Linked DNA regions of Homo sapiens: regions 2 and 3 are each linked to region 1. Evidence: promoter capture Hi-C in 16 types of primary human blood cells and fetal thymus (Javierre and others, 2016). All regions are on one chromosome and are shown on one strand. The core of a region is centred on a gene start or on the middle of the fragment in contact, and the rest is flanking DNA. Distances in the headings are between cores, read along the strand shown. Region 1 holds the start of FAM210A (family with sequence similarity 210 member A). Region 2 holds the start of RALBP1 (ralA binding protein 1). Region 3 holds the start of VAPA (VAMP associated protein A).

Evidence for each region. Contacts are between HindIII fragments. The CHiCAGO score rates a contact against its expected background, and 5 or more counts as called.
Region 2: a contact is called between a fragment that was not itself captured here and the fragment with the promoter of FAM210A in region 1, in 1 of 17 cell types (fetal thymus). The highest score is 6.4, in fetal thymus.
Region 3: the fragment with the promoter of VAPA here is called in contact with the fragment with the promoter of FAM210A in region 1 in 1 of 17 cell types (non-activated CD4 T cells); the score reaches 5.4 in non-activated CD4 T cells.

The regions. Positions count from the first base shown.
Region 1 is chr18:13,723,659-13,728,490 of GRCh38, reverse strand. FAM210A (family with sequence similarity 210 member A) reads left to right here and starts at 1,933. Exons shown (of 4, transcript NM_152352.4): 1 at 1,933-2,162. It overlaps RNMT (RNA guanine-7 methyltransferase), which reads right to left and starts at 1,818. Exons shown (of 12, transcript NM_003799.3): 1 at 1,762-1,818. RefSeq lists an enhancer at 1,830-2,755. The HindIII fragment of the contact is 3,253 bases long and covers 1-1,939 here.
Region 2 is chr18:9,473,804-9,478,635 of GRCh38, reverse strand. RALBP1 (ralA binding protein 1) reads right to left here and starts at 3,123. Exons shown (of 10, transcript NM_006788.4): 1 at 2,945-3,123. It also overlaps the pseudogene IRX4P1. RefSeq lists enhancers at 2,493-2,552, 2,291-3,159 and a silencer at 2,783-3,192. The HindIII fragment of the contact is 672 bases long and covers 2,084-2,755 here.
Region 3 is chr18:9,911,992-9,916,823 of GRCh38, reverse strand. VAPA (VAMP associated protein A) reads right to left here and starts at 2,808. Exons shown (of 6, transcript NM_194434.3): 1 at 2,489-2,808. The coding sequence starts at 2,567. It overlaps LOC124904245 (a long non-coding RNA gene), which reads left to right and starts at 2,876. Exons shown (of 2, transcript XR_007066284.1): 1 at 2,876-3,112; 2 at 3,491-3,891. RefSeq lists an enhancer at 1,689-2,306 and silencers at 1,824-2,613, 2,824-2,873. The HindIII fragment of the contact is 3,402 bases long and covers 1,063-4,464 here.

The DNA.
Region 1 (4,832 bases), core at 684-3,183:
GGTGATGTGCGCCTGTAATCCCAGCTACTCGGGAGGCTGAGGCATGAGAATCGCTTGAACCCGGGAGGTGGAGGTTGCAGTGAGCTGAGATCAAGCCACTGCACTCCGGCCTGGGCGACAGAGCAAGGCTCCGTCACACACACACACACACACACACACAAAAAAAAAAAAAAAAAAAAAAAAAAAAAAAGATGCTGATGAGGATGCAGGATGCAGAAAAGGGGGAACACTTGTACACTGTTAGGGAGAACGTAAATTAGCACAGCCACTAATTTACATACTGGGAAAAGTATGATGGAGGTTCTTCAAAAAACAAAAAATAGAACTAGTGCTATTGAGATGAGTTTCTTCTATATTCTGGTTGTTAATCCCCTGTCCGATGAACAGTTTTGCAAATCTGGGTACAGATCCAAAAGAAGGGAAATCAGTATATCTAAGAAATATCTGCAGTCTCAAGTTTATTCACAATAGTCAAGATATGGAATCAACCTAAGCGTTCATCAACAGATGAATAAAGATAATGTAGCATATATACACAATGGAATATTAGTCATTAAAAAGAATGAAATCCTGTCATTTGCAACAACATGGATGAAACCGGATGTCATTATGTTAACTGAAATAAGCCAGGCACATGAAGACAATATCATGTTGTTACTCATGTGGGAGCTAAAAATGTGGACCTGATGGAGGTAAAGAGTGGATTGGTGGTTACCACAGACTGGGAAGGGTAGCAGGAAGAGGAGCGGGATGAAGAAGAGAAATTGGTTAATGGGTACAAAAAACCCCAGAAGAAATAAAATCTAGTGCCTGATAGTACAGTGGGGTGGACACAGTTAACAATAACTTATTGTGTAGTTCAAAATAGCTAAAAGAAAAATTGGAATGTTCCCAACATAAAGATAAATGTTTGAGATGACAAATATCCCAATTGCCCTGATTTAGTCGTTACACATTGTATGCATGTATCAAAGTATCACCTGCACCTGCAAATATGTGCAACTTCTATGTATCAATTTAACAAATTGGGGGAAAAAAAACCCAAACCAAACTCAAAGTGGAATAATGAAAACACTCCATAGGGAAGAGAGCTGTCCCTCAGAATCTTCAAGAAACCTTCGAAAGGTGGTCGACTGACATGGAGATGGACACGCGATAAATAACCACACGAACATTTCGACCCGGCTTTCCAGTCACACCTCCGAAGCAAGCTATGTCTCTGCGTCATTTCAGCTCCTCAGGGTACGAGCGAGCAGGCCGCCAGGGCCGCCGGGATAAAGCCCAAGCGGGATAAGCTCTAAGTCCCGACCCGCCCGCTTGACCCTCTACCACGGGGCCCGAGAGGACGCACAGAGGCGAGAAGGGACTTCTCCAGCCAAGTTCACCCCCTCCGTCATTAGCGCGGCCTGTTACTCAACCTCTGGTTCAGGTTTCCGAAGCGCCGCTGAAGACAAACCTGCGGACCCCACGCCCCTCCCCAGCACGGCCCTGGGGCGCGAGCTGGAGCAGCTCTTCGAGCTGCTTCTCCCACCCGGGCTCGCCCAGTCTGGAGGAGGAACAGCGCCCGCCCACCCCAAGGAGTTCCCATTTTCCTTGGGACTGAGGACACAAGGCAATAGACCCACGCGTTGGGTAGTGAAGCACAGGGCTAATGCGAAGTGAGCCCATGTCAGGGGTGGGAGTGCCAGTTCCACCCCTCCACGGCGGCCGAGGGACAAACACAAAGAAAGGAAGGGCCGGAGTTCCAGCCGTCACACTCACCAGCACAGCCAAACGCGATTCTGTTTGCGGAAACGGCGGCCCGCGCCACGCGTGTCTGCTTACGTCACTTCCGGAGGTGCGAGAGTCACGTGGAGACGGTCAGGCGAGAGTGCCGCGACGCACGTCCTCCGCGCCGGAACTACGAGTCCCGACGTGCCGCGCGCGGCATGCAGAAGCTTCACTGAGCGGGCACTGGAGGTCGCGAGCACGTTGCTAGTGGGCGCGGCTGGCGGGGCCGGGGGCGGCAGGGGGCTAGCGTCCGGCTGAGCCCGGCGGGTTCCTGCACGCGGACCCACGCTTTGTCGGGCTGCTCTGCTGAGTGACACCGCCGTGGCATCCGAGGAGCTGTGGTCCAGCCTGCGCGGCGGGAAGCGGCGGCGGCGGCTCCAGCGTCCTAAGAGGTAGCATGGGCCCAGGCCTCTGTGGGGCAGCGGGAGGGGTCTAGAGGGCACCTTCAACCCTGGGCGTGTGTCCGGGAGCTGACTCGCGGCGCGAACCCGGCAACTGCTCCGCGTGCGCCGCTCTTCGGGCTGTGGCAGTGTACGACTGCCAGACGGGTCGTCCACACTCGCCGACCCCACAGACCCCGGCGGCCGAGAGAGGTCCCCCCGCCCTTCCGGGTCGAGCCAGTGTCCTGGCAAATCTTGCTTTGGGACTGTTTTTCAGCCTCCTTTGCTGTAACCCTTCACCGTGTTCTCCCCCCTTCTTCCGAAGCCAGTTGAAGAGGGGCCCGGAAGCGCCCGCGTTCGGAATGGTTTTTAAAATTAGCAATTTCTTATTAGGGACTGGCAGACTGGTCCTTACCGCCGTGTTTGGGAAGCCACAAGAGGCCATTCTTACCTGTTAGATTCTGAGAAAAGGGACCGCCTATACCTCTTCTTGACAAATACCTAAGGATGCATTAGTCTGCGTTGGCTGAACTTGGCATGGTGTGGTTTGGGGGAGACAACACACTTTTTTTGGCCATCACCCCAGATTTCTACTGGGGAGTGAAAGCGCCTACTGTACTGAAACTCGAAAGCTCCATAGTTGAGGACTTTCAACCTGAGATCAGGGTCAAAACTACCTGTGGATAGATTATTGAAGCGTGTGCATATTAACGTCGTGCGTCAAGTCCCCACCTTCCAAGGTTGTAAAACTGATCAGATTTACAATCCGTCTTGAATTACTCTTTACCAAAATTGATCCATTTAAAACAGCTTTGAAAATGTGCTTTACCAGCCTTCCTTCTTGTCAGTAGGCACAGGTATATTAATGAATAGACCTGGCTTTGGGGAAGGCAGCATTTGCAGCGTTGTGCTTTCCAATCTAATCACTTCTAAATTGTGGGCATTAGCCCATTTGAGGTTACAAACTTTGAACCAAGAATGAGGCCTATTTTTCACAAATAAGGATGACCCATCAATTTCTGATGACTGCTTGTATTTGTTATTATATGAAATGAGGTAAGTTGAGAATTAATCTCATTACATGAATATTGACAACTGCAAAAGTGTAGGTCTTACAGATCGAATGCATTATAGGCATATACAAGCATTAGAACCAGGCAATTACATTCCCTGTTCCTGATGCTTAAGTTTCTTGAGATAATTGCTGTTGTAATTTTACAGAAAATGAGTGTAATTTTGACTTTTAAAAACATGTTTTAATGTTTTTAAACACCGGGTGCAGTGGCTCACTTCTGTAATCCCAGCCGTTGGGAGGCCGAGGCGGTTGGATCACGAGGTCAGGAGTTTGAGACCAGCCTGGCCAACATGGTGAAACCCCGTCTCTACTAAAAATACAAAAATTAGCCAGGCGTGGTGGCGCGTGCCTGTAATCCCAGCTACTCAGGAGGCTGAGGCAGGAGAATCGCTTAAACCCGGAAGGCGGAGGTTGCAGTGAGCCGAGATTGCGCCGTTGCACTCTAGCCTGGGCGACAGAGCGAGACTGTCTCAAAAAAAACTAAACAAAACAAAAAAAGTTATTAGATTAAAAGCCTCTTAACTATGTGTTTATGAAAACTCCACGATGATGGGATATATAGAGATTACATTTTTCAGTTTTTATAAAACTTAACTAGAAGTTGTGTAAATTCATTTGAGAATAGAGGGGAAGGATTCTTGAAAGCAGTTAATGTAAGTAAATGAGCCAGATAAAAATGATTTTAAAGTTACCATTGGTGTTATTTTTCCCTCATTATTGCCTGAGTAATCTCTGGTTTTCTGGACATTAAAATAATAATAGCTAATACTCGAGTACCTTTTAGGTGCCAAGGTTAGTGCTTTATTCATTTGCACTCGTTTAATTCTAACCGAACCCAGTGGTATAGTTATGAGTGTTTGTTTTACAGATGAGGGTTAAGTAACTTGGCCAAGATCATGCAGCTTGTTAAGTAGTGGGATCAAGATTTGGACCCAGGCAGTCTGGCTGATTGACCAGACTCTGCTAATAATGAAACAGTGCTGGCTAGAAGATCATACTCAGAACTGGACGTTGCCTAGCAAATAGTAGATTTTTCAGAAAGTGTTTTGATACTTCTTAATGCCTGGGTTATGATGTCCCGAGAGAAAATAGTTAGATAAGGATGTTATCTTGCTGGAATGTGAGCTCCACCAAGACAAGGAAAGGACCTGCAGGATTTATTTCAACCCATTTGTAAGAAAGTGAGAGTACTTCTCTCAGAGGTATAATTTTAAAGTGTGATTTCTGTTGTAGAGTTGAAGATCATATTTTTGAAACATAGAGATTGTTTTAAAAATGTAGAAACAATGTTATAGTTTCCTAAGATAGTGTTCTGTGAAGAGAGGTGGTTCATGGAAGCTTTGTTCCTCCAAATAGTTTTGGATGAAGGACTTTTCCTCTGTTCCACTCAGGAAAGTGTTCCTACTGAAATTTCATTGTCTTTCTGGAACAAATAAAATATTATTGTTTAAAAGGTTTTTCCTTCAGTTGAAAATAAGATTTTGTTGAGTAATACTGTGTGTGATGATTAGTTTTATTATGTCAGCTTAGCTAGGCTATAATACCTAGTTATTTAATCAGATACTAGTTTGGTTGATGCTATGATGGTATTCTGAAGACGTGGTTAA
Region 2 (4,832 bases), core at 1,170-3,669, 4.3 Mb after region 1:
CTCCACCGCCTGGGCCTGAGCACGGCCGGGCCATTCCCAAACTCGGGACGCAGGAGAGGATCTCGGAGAAGAAGAGGCCACCCTGAAGCACACAGTTTACGTCAAAAGTTTACATGGAGAAGGCGGTTCCGTTCTGAAGCGCGGTCTGCTGTCCTTTTGGGCGCGAGGCATGTGGTGTTCGCTGTGAAGCCTCCTGGGCCTGTTGGTCCTCCGATTTCATCCTCGGGACATAATGCTTACCAACAGTACTTGCACTGAGTTGACACTCGTGCACTCTTGACTCCAGATGTTTTTCAAAATGTATGTTCACACCAATAATTGCCTACTTCAGAGGCTAATAAGACAAAACCAATAAAACTGAGTGATGGTGTCTGTATTGGGAAAAAAAAAAGTGTTCCATGTTCTTTCTCACCTACGTTTCTGCCCACCTTTCCCTCTAAAAGTTCCTTCCCCATCCCTGCCCTAGCCCCCCAATTTCTGCATTAGTCATGACTAAGCCTTCTTTAAGCTTAAGGACATAAAATATACAGTACCTAATACAGTGCCTGACCTATAGCAGAGGGTTAAAAATGGGCTGAGCTGGCTTAGGTCTCTTCTTTGTCCTCTCAATGACTCCTATTTGCTTATAAAATAAAATTGTAATTATTCTGATGGTCTGCAAGATCCATAATTTGGTCTCTGCCTATCTCCCCAGTTTCAGGTCTTGCCACCACCCTGTATTATACTTGCTATTTTTGCAGATGCTACTCTCTAATTTTAGACTCCCATGCTTTTTCTCACACTGCTCCTTCTACCTAAATGCCCATTCTTTCTATGCCTGTACACTCCTGATTTTCATCACCTTCTACATAGTTTTTCCTTACAGTTTCCCTCTTCTTCAGCTCTTTTCTTCACTTTAAGAAACTGACCACTATCTCCTTTGTACATCCACTGTACCCGCATATGTTCTTCAATCAAAACAATCTTGTACTTGTTGACAGTTAAAGTAAGAGATAAGGTTCAACTACCCTGAAGGCAGGAACACTGCCTTCTGTATCTTTAAGTCCTCTTCACCTGGTCACAGTACTTTCTACATAGTAATTCCTGTATTCTAAATAATCTGCATTTTTCCTTGTACCCTCTTATACAAACTAACATAAGTTTCTATCAGGGATCTTTCAAAACAGAAACAATATTCTTTTGGGTTACATGCTGGGCCCGATCTCTTCTTGCCAAGCAAACAACTATGCAAATATAACTGTACAAATTAAAGTTATTATGCACTTTCTGATACCACTTTCCTATTCTAAATTAGGGGAGAAATAGTCTGGATAAGATCCATAATTAGAAACAATATCCTGAAGAGAAAGCAAACTAAGTTGTATTACATTGTTTCGAGATACCTTGTTTAAAGAGTCACTTCTCAAAAGCTACTACTGTTGGCAGGGCGCGGTGGCACACGCCTGTAATCCCAGCGCTTTGGGAGGCCTAGGCGGGCAGATCACCTGAGGTCGGGAGTTCAAGACCAGCCTGACCAACATGGAGAAAATGTCTCTACTAAAAATATAAAATTAGCCGGGCGTGATGGCGCATGCCTGTAATCCCCTCAGGAGGCTGAGGCAGCAGAATCGTTTGAACCCAGGAGGCAGAGGCTGTGGTGAGCTGAGATCATGCCATTGCACTCCAACCTGGGCAACAAGAGCGAAACTCTGTCTCAAAAAATAAAAAACTAAAAAAAAAAAAAAAAAGCTACTGTTAACTAACCTACCCCACTTGGATCTACCAGATACTTTGAATGAGAGGTGGAAACCACTCTACTGACCTCCTTCCTACCCCTACTACCGCCACTCCAGCTTACAGTAATTATTTTCACAAAGACAGAAAGGAGTTATCAAATGACCACAATAACTCTAAAAACAGAAAGTGAGGTGATCTTTCTTATTCACAGTCCCACTTATTCATTTAGAAATGCTGAGCACCAAAACAAAACCTTATCACAAGTTCAGTATTTCGTTAATAACTGCCAAGTATAATGGAATACTCCCCAAAGTACTGCAGCATTAGAACATGACCACTCCACTAAATTAAAAATTCAGCGAAAGCTTTTCTAACAAGGCTGGATGGAGCACTAACTCAACGGCCAAACGGCTGCACTTCCTGTATATGCACGTTCAAAACACCTCGAATTAACATGCTAGGGACCTTGAAGAATTGTACTAGGCCTTGCTCAAGAGGAAGGCTTTGTAATACTGAATCCCAAAACTTGAAACAGCAGAATTACTTCAGGGAAGACGGAGGTGTTAAATATTCTGTAAAACCTGTTTCACTCTCACAACGATCAGTTTTAAAAAAAAGAGGGAGAACACTGACCTCATTAAGAGCATTCTGACAACACACATAGTTGAACATGAGTTGTGAAAAGAATTTTCAACTTCAGATCTGTCTGTCCATTCCCACTGAAACCTGAAGGAAGGATCGCAGCACCCAAAGGCGCCCACTGCTCAGTGCCAGCGGTGGGCGACACCAGGAGCCTGTCCTGGTCCCCTGGGTAAGCCCTGGAGCCTGGCCACTATGCCGGGCACGATCCACCAACCGTGAGGGCTGGGTCCCCTAGCCTCTGTCCAGGCGCCCCCCAAGAGCTTCCCCGAGGCCTGGGGACTCCTAACTCTCCACCCCCGGCCCCCGAGAGCACCACAAACGAGGACGCCACGAAGGGAGGCCCGTCGGCCAGTGGGAGGGACGCACGGCCAAGGGGGGCGAAAACTGGGGCGAAGCTTTCCGGGGAGGAACCCACGCCAGGGGCAGCCACGCCCCCCACCCCCAACTTCAAACCCGAGCGCTGCGAGCACCGAGCCCCACACGCTGCCTGACAGACGCGGGCGCGAGGCCGGCGCGGGAGAGGGTTCCTCGGGCACTCCAGGGGTATCGCCGCGACCCTAGCACGCGACCGCTCCCTGCGACTGACCTGTGCCTGCCGCCGCGCGACCGTCCGCCCCGCCGCAGCCTCCGCCTCCTCGCGCTCACGCTGCCGCCGCAGCCACCGGAGCCGCCTCCTGCGCTGCGCCCCAGGCCGGCCTCGGGCGCCCCATTCCCACCCCGCCCAGCCTCTGCCTGTTTACAATGATTGGGACGGAACGGGACGAGGCGGTCCAGCGCGCACGCGCATTCCCTCCTCCCGCCGCAGCCGGCTTCCCGGATCCTCCTCTCCGCTCAGACGGCTGAAGCCGTCAAGGGCAGGCGACCTGGGCTCTCGCGCGGGGCGCGCTGGGAGGCGTAGTTCCCAAGGCCCCGGCGTCCAGCCAGCCCGAAGGCCTCTCGCCAAGGAAGCAAACTACAACACCCAGGAGGCACCGCGCCCCCTTCGTCCCCAGGCTCGCTGAGGAGACTGAAGAAGAGCGCGAGAGAACGCGCCGAGGGCCAGTGCTCTGCAGGCGCCTGCGCAGTCGGTGGCCTTGCGGGTTTCGGGGACGGACGGCTTACCCCGGTGTGGTGCTGGCGAAGGTGGCTCGCGGGCATCTCCTGCAACGGCCTTGAGGATGGAAAGGGCTTTCCTCTCCACGCTCTGGCCAGCCTGCGCCTCAGCTCCCGAAGTTGAGAGCTTTCCTTGCGCCAGCGTGCTTTAGTCGTTCCAACCAGTTAAACCAGACTGGGGGCCGCCCGGCTGGCCGCTGGGTGGGGCGGCTGCCCCGCCTTCGACTGGGTGTGGGATTGGAGGAAAGAGCGCCGTGGGCCTGTAGGGATAGGCGGGAATAAACCTCTGTCGGGAACATCCACGGAATTCCTGAAGCGGGTGTGGGCTTCTGCAGGGCTTCAGCGCGCCCCCGGCTCAGCAGTTACCGAGCAGCCCCCGAGGAAAGCTGCCCAGTCCGTGTTTGGCTGGCAGTAGAGATAACTGAATTTCTTCGAGAAGCCTTTCACCCAGGCTTGTTGAGTTGCTCTGCTAATGCGTAGCGAAGGCTGGAAACGGCTTCAGCAGTCTTCGTGTTTTCTGAAATGTGGCAGTTTATTAGGGGAGAGGAGGGACTTGGAATAGACGACCCTACCTGTCACTCGCATTCCTACGTGCAGCACTCTGTGGCACTTCGTTGCCCGTTTAGATTGGCCGCTGCTATCCATCTTGCTCTCTGCTCCCACATCAGCTTTCCTCAAAGCGGGCGGTAAATTTGTCCCTAGTACTCTGCGCTCCCTACTCAGTAAAGTTCAACCCCTGGGGCCTTAGATTCATTCAGGGGCCTCCCACGAGTGGATACGGGATGGTCTGAGGTAGCCATTGGTCTTTGACTTTCGGAAAAGCCTTCTCATGGCTCCTCTCGCAGTAGAACAGTCTTCTCTGACCACTGGGTTGGGCAGGTGAGCATGGCAGTGACAATTCTCTGCCTGTGACAGCACTGATTCGGCCAAGGGGCAGGCACTGATCCACGCTGGGCCTTATGGAGGCCTTGCCTGAAGCTGCTATGTGGATGCAGGAGGGGAGCAGAGGGAGTTTTCTACTGAGGCAATTGCTGATGGACGTGTTTCTTGCAACATCGAGTGGCCTAGCCAAAGGTGAGGGTGTGAAAGAGAAGAAAGGAGAAATGGAAAGGGAGAAAGAGCTGGCAGAATGTAGACCGTGGTTTCATTTGGAGGGCATGGTTTGTGGAGCTCTTTAAGTGCTGTGAGCATGTGAGCCTAAGTGGGTGAGCCCACTCATTCATTGATTTATTATTTGGAGCCAATATGTGTGGATATTGAATGTATTTGTTGGCTGCCACTTGAGCATTTATTCCTTCCATTTAAGCCAGGCAACATAACCATTCCCTCTAGCAGCAGAGATGGTCACAAGCCCAGTCAGAAACAATGAACCCACAAAGACT
Region 3 (4,832 bases), core at 1,559-4,058, 3.8 Mb after region 1:
TGACAAAGAATTTTGCAAAACTGTCTTCTAAAAGTCCTTCACTTAGAAAGTTTTGAATGACTTAGGGTAAGTCAGTTAAATGATTTTTTTCTATCATAAACTAAGCCCAAGTAGACTGTACATTCTAAATGAATCTCCTCAGTGTTGAACTGTGCATTTAAATACACAAAGGTTTCCATCAAAGCCAACAATTTACCTTTGACTAAAACGATAATATTAAGGAATCAAACACCAAATGTCACCTCCCAATCCTCCCCATCATCTCCATCTTTAAACTGAAACACACAACAAACTATTGGGCATTTAAGTACCAGGCATTCTCTCACAGCAGTGTGTTTACTCAACCACTCTCTTGGCCTAAACCTCCCCTGAAATGAAAAACAAGCCTTTTCCTTAAATGCTTCCTAAGGGAGGGATGGGGCACATAGAGAAAGGGCTTCTTTCCTCAGACACGGTTGTGTCTCTGTTATACCATCTACACACCTTTTCTGCTTCCCTGGCTAGTCTTATTTTTACTGGCAACACAAAAACAATGAGTTCTATAATCATAGCTGTAATTCTCCAACACCCCCAAAAAAGGAAATATATGAGTAAGTCACTGTGTAGGGCTTTTGCTTGTTTTTTAAACTTGCTTCTCCACTATTATTACTCCCTTACTATAGCAACATAACAACTTCCCTAAGGAGAAAACTTCAAACTCTGTGGACATTTCCTGGCCTAAAACTGGTTGTAAAGGCTTATAAATCCCTAATGGCAATTTACACATAGTTATCCAGTAGAGGAAATGTTCACTGTAAACACAGCCAATCAAAAGATAAAAACGAAATATTAAAAAAAAACACACCATACAGATTTACATTAAATTATCTCAAGATAATGGCTGAGTCAGGACTCTTCATAATTCCTCAAAGGTTTTCCCCCAGCTACAACTACGTAAAAATCACACAACTTACATAAACTTGCAATAAAATACATTCACTGCACCTTAAAACCAAATCCTTACCCAACAAGTAGCTCACTTACACTTCTATTCAAAGAAATTTGTAAACGCACTAAAAAGCTTGCAATGTAGTTATGCAATATTAATCTCATAATTCCAGAATATATTTTAAATTCCTAAACCTGAAGTTTTTCCTATGGAAAACAATGTAGTTGGCTTTCTCTTGGACTCAGCCTTACACAACAATAAAGGATTTAATTTTTTCTTTTAGCACTAGAATTGCTATACACCTCACAAAAATTGTTCTCATTCAACAATTGAAATACAAGACATAGACTTCCAAAACGGGACTCACTTTACACTTAACTAAAGATAGGAAGGAACCTACTTTCTATTAGATGTTCACACTCTTTCAGTATTCCTTAAAAACAAAGAAAAAAAATAAAAATCTGTACATTTTAACTCTCTTTCCTAAAGTACACTACATATTGACAAGGAAACCGACCAAAAGCCCCTGGGATTCTTCCAGGATCACCAAGTCAGACTAAAAAACTTATCACAGGCAGTACTACAAAAACCTACAAAGTTCCAGAGCTGGGTGACACCTTATCAGCCTTCTCAGGATCTGTCGGAAACCGCAAACGTAAAAGCAAAAAAGTCACACGCACTGAAGGTTTCTCAGCAGAGGAGCTCAACTAAAGGGCTAAATAAAAGCACGCGGGTGGCACACTGAAATGTCGTAGAAGGCAGGAAGCCCCGCTACTATGAACCTACAACTCTCCGTTTGCGGCTGACGCATCGCTCCTGCCCGCACGCACCTGGGTCCGTGCCAACAGCACCGGGCAGCCCTCGCCAGGCACCTCCAAGGACTCTCCACCTCCCCGGCGCGTCCTACACCTGACGGCCGAGTTCTAAACCTGGCGGAAAGGTGACAAGCGACGCCCTCCGCGGAACCCGAGGGCCGGCTGCAGCGAGCTCTCCCCGGGCCGGGGCAGGGGTCGGGGGGCGGCTCTCACTCCCAAGGGGTCCCGCGCCGTGCCCTAGCCTCCCCGCGCCGCTGACAGCCGGGAGCGGGCGACAGACGCAGCTTGCGCCACCTCCAGAGCCCACTCCCCGCCGCAGCCCAGAGCGCACGCCCTCGGGTGCCCAGCCGCCCACGCCCCGCCGAAGCACGCCGTCGGCCTCTGGGGCCAAGGACGCGGGCCCAGGCGGACCGCGGCGCGGGCGGGACCGGACGCCCAGGAGGCGCCCCCGCGGGACCGCAAGATGGCGGCGGCGGCGGCGCCAGGGCCGGGCTCCCCTCCGCCTCGCCCCGGCCGGCGCGCGCACCGCAGCGAGGGCGGGCGGGAGGGGATGAAGCGGGCCGGAGCAAGGGGCAGGCCGGCCGAGGTGGCGGCAAGAAAGCAGCCGGGAAAGGGAAGGCGCCGGGGCGTGGGGGAGGGGGCGCTCCCTCGGGCCAGGGCCGCGGACGTGCCCTCCGCGCCCCCCCGCCGACAGCCAGCGGTCCGCGCGCCCCACCCCACCCGGGGGTGTCCCCGTTCTGCCTACCTTTGAATTTGAGGTCTGTGGGCGGATCGAGGACCAGGATCTGCTCGTGCTTCGCCATGGCCCCTGAGGCGGACGCCATCGGAGAGACAGCGCAGAGCGGGGGCGCGCCCGCGGCGGCGGTTTGCTGACTGGGGGCGGGGGACGACGGCGGCGACGGCTCGGCCGAGCTCTAGGACGAGGCCAGGCTCGCGGCTCCCGAGCCCTAACGCCTGCCGCTGTGTCACCGGTTCGGTGGGCCACCCGCTGGGTCAGCAGCTCCGGGTCCCACAACTGACTCAACCCCACACCAGCCGCCACGGCCACGCGCACTTGCGAGCCTCGGCGACCCACGTGACGGCCTCTGCGTGCCTACGTGCGCGCCCCCGGCCGGGAGCTTCTAGCGCTTGTCCCGCCCTCCAGGCCGGCCTAGCGCGGCGCGGGGCTGCTGCGCCTGCGCGCTCGCGGCTTGCCGCGGCCCGGAGCGCAGCCCAGCTGTCAAGGGAACGGGTGTGGAAGGAGGCGGGGCAAAGGTCCGCGGGACCGACGCGATGCGCAGCGCAGGGCTGGAAGCGCAGTCCTCTGTCACCTTGAGCTCCGAGTACGGAACTAGAGAAACTGCTCTGGCAGCGCATCACACTCTTCCAAGTGGGAATGCCCAGTGGAAGGGACAAGTAGTAGTAGGGAAGCGCCCACTCACTACAACTCCCGGCATGCCCCCTGCGGGGCGGGGCCTTCGCCGAGGGCCTGGCCCTTTGCGGCCCTGCGCGGTGCTTGCTGGGAACTGTAGTAACGGCTGTTTGAGGGTGGAAAGGAGAGCTAGGTCTGTTGGAGGCAATGGGGTGGGGTTCGCGGACGCTAATTTTGGCTCTCAGAGCGCGTCTAGTTTGCGCTAAAAAAGAAAAAACTTGAAGACTGAAACGAGGCCCCAATGTTAGAAATATATTAATAAAATCTGCCCTGTGGAGAACAGGCGTGGGGGGATGTGTCCGTTTGCTCTAATTCTATCCAGTCCTCTGTTGGCAGGGCTGCATTCCCCGTGGTATCCAATTCAGCCTCTCCTGCTTCCTGAGTTCTCTCCAGTGATGCAAAATCAGATAAGGAAACACACCTCGTCTAGGAAGCAAGGGGAAATATGACAAAGCACACAGAAACTAGAAATAAAAGTCAAAAATCTACACCATCGAACCCAAATAATCTTCTTCAGTTTTAATGATGGACCCAAACCAAAACAGTTCTCACGTTCACATGTTAGAAACTAACTCCATCTGCATCACTTACGATAGGCTGTAGTAAACTGAACCAAATAAGAAAAATCCCAGCAGCAAACTTGCTGACAAAACTTTAGCCGATTGCCAGGGTAGTCCGGTACAGGAACGTCAAATGAAACCAATGTGCTGTAAATAAACCTTTATTGTATTTTGTGATACGGTTTGAATTTAAATCCCTAGGTAGCGCCACGAAACAAAAGACATATTGATGCTACTGCCATGGAGCAGCACAGTTTGTCTAGAAAATAAACGAGACGAAACAGCAGTCTAGAAGTAGGCACCAAATCCAAGTTTTCATGTGCGATCCAGGTATTAGGGTCCATCCAGGAACAGCCTGCTGGAATTGCTAGCCTGGCATTCACAGAAGATTGTGCCACCCACGAGGAATGTGTTTTCAGCCCTGAAATTCCTGGGAGTGAGAGGTGAAGCCAGCTGGATTTCTGGGTTGGGTGGGGACTTGGAGAACTTTTCTTACAAGAGGATTGTAAAATGCACCAATCAGCACTCTGTAGCTAGCTAGAGTTTTGTAAAATGCACCAATCAGTGCTCTGTAAAAACGCACCTATCAGCACTCTGTAGGTAGCTAGAGGTTTGTAAAATGGACCAATCAGCACTCTGTAAAATGGACCAATCAGCAGGGCATGGGCAGGGACAAATAAGCCAATAAAAACTGGCCACCCCAGCCTGCAGGGGCAGCCTGCTTGGGTCCTTTTCCACATTGTGGAAGCTTTGTTCTTTTGCTCTTCACAATAAATCTTGCTGCTGCTCAGTCTTTGGGTTTGTGCCATCATTTCTTTCTTTCTTTTTTTTTTTTTTTTTTTTTGAGAGGGAGTCTCGCTCTGTCCCCCAGGCTAGAGTGCAGTGGCGTGATCTCAGCTCACTGCAAGCTCCGCCTCCCAGGTTCACGCCATTCTCCTGCCTCAGCCACCTGAGTAGCTGGGACTACAGGCGCCTGTCTCCATGCCCAGCTAATTTTTTTATATTTTTAGTAGAGGTGGGGTTTCACCGTGTTAACCAGGATGGTCTCGATCTCCTGACCTCATGATTCACCCGCCTTGGCCTCCCAAAGTGCTGGGATTACAGGACTGACCTAGTGA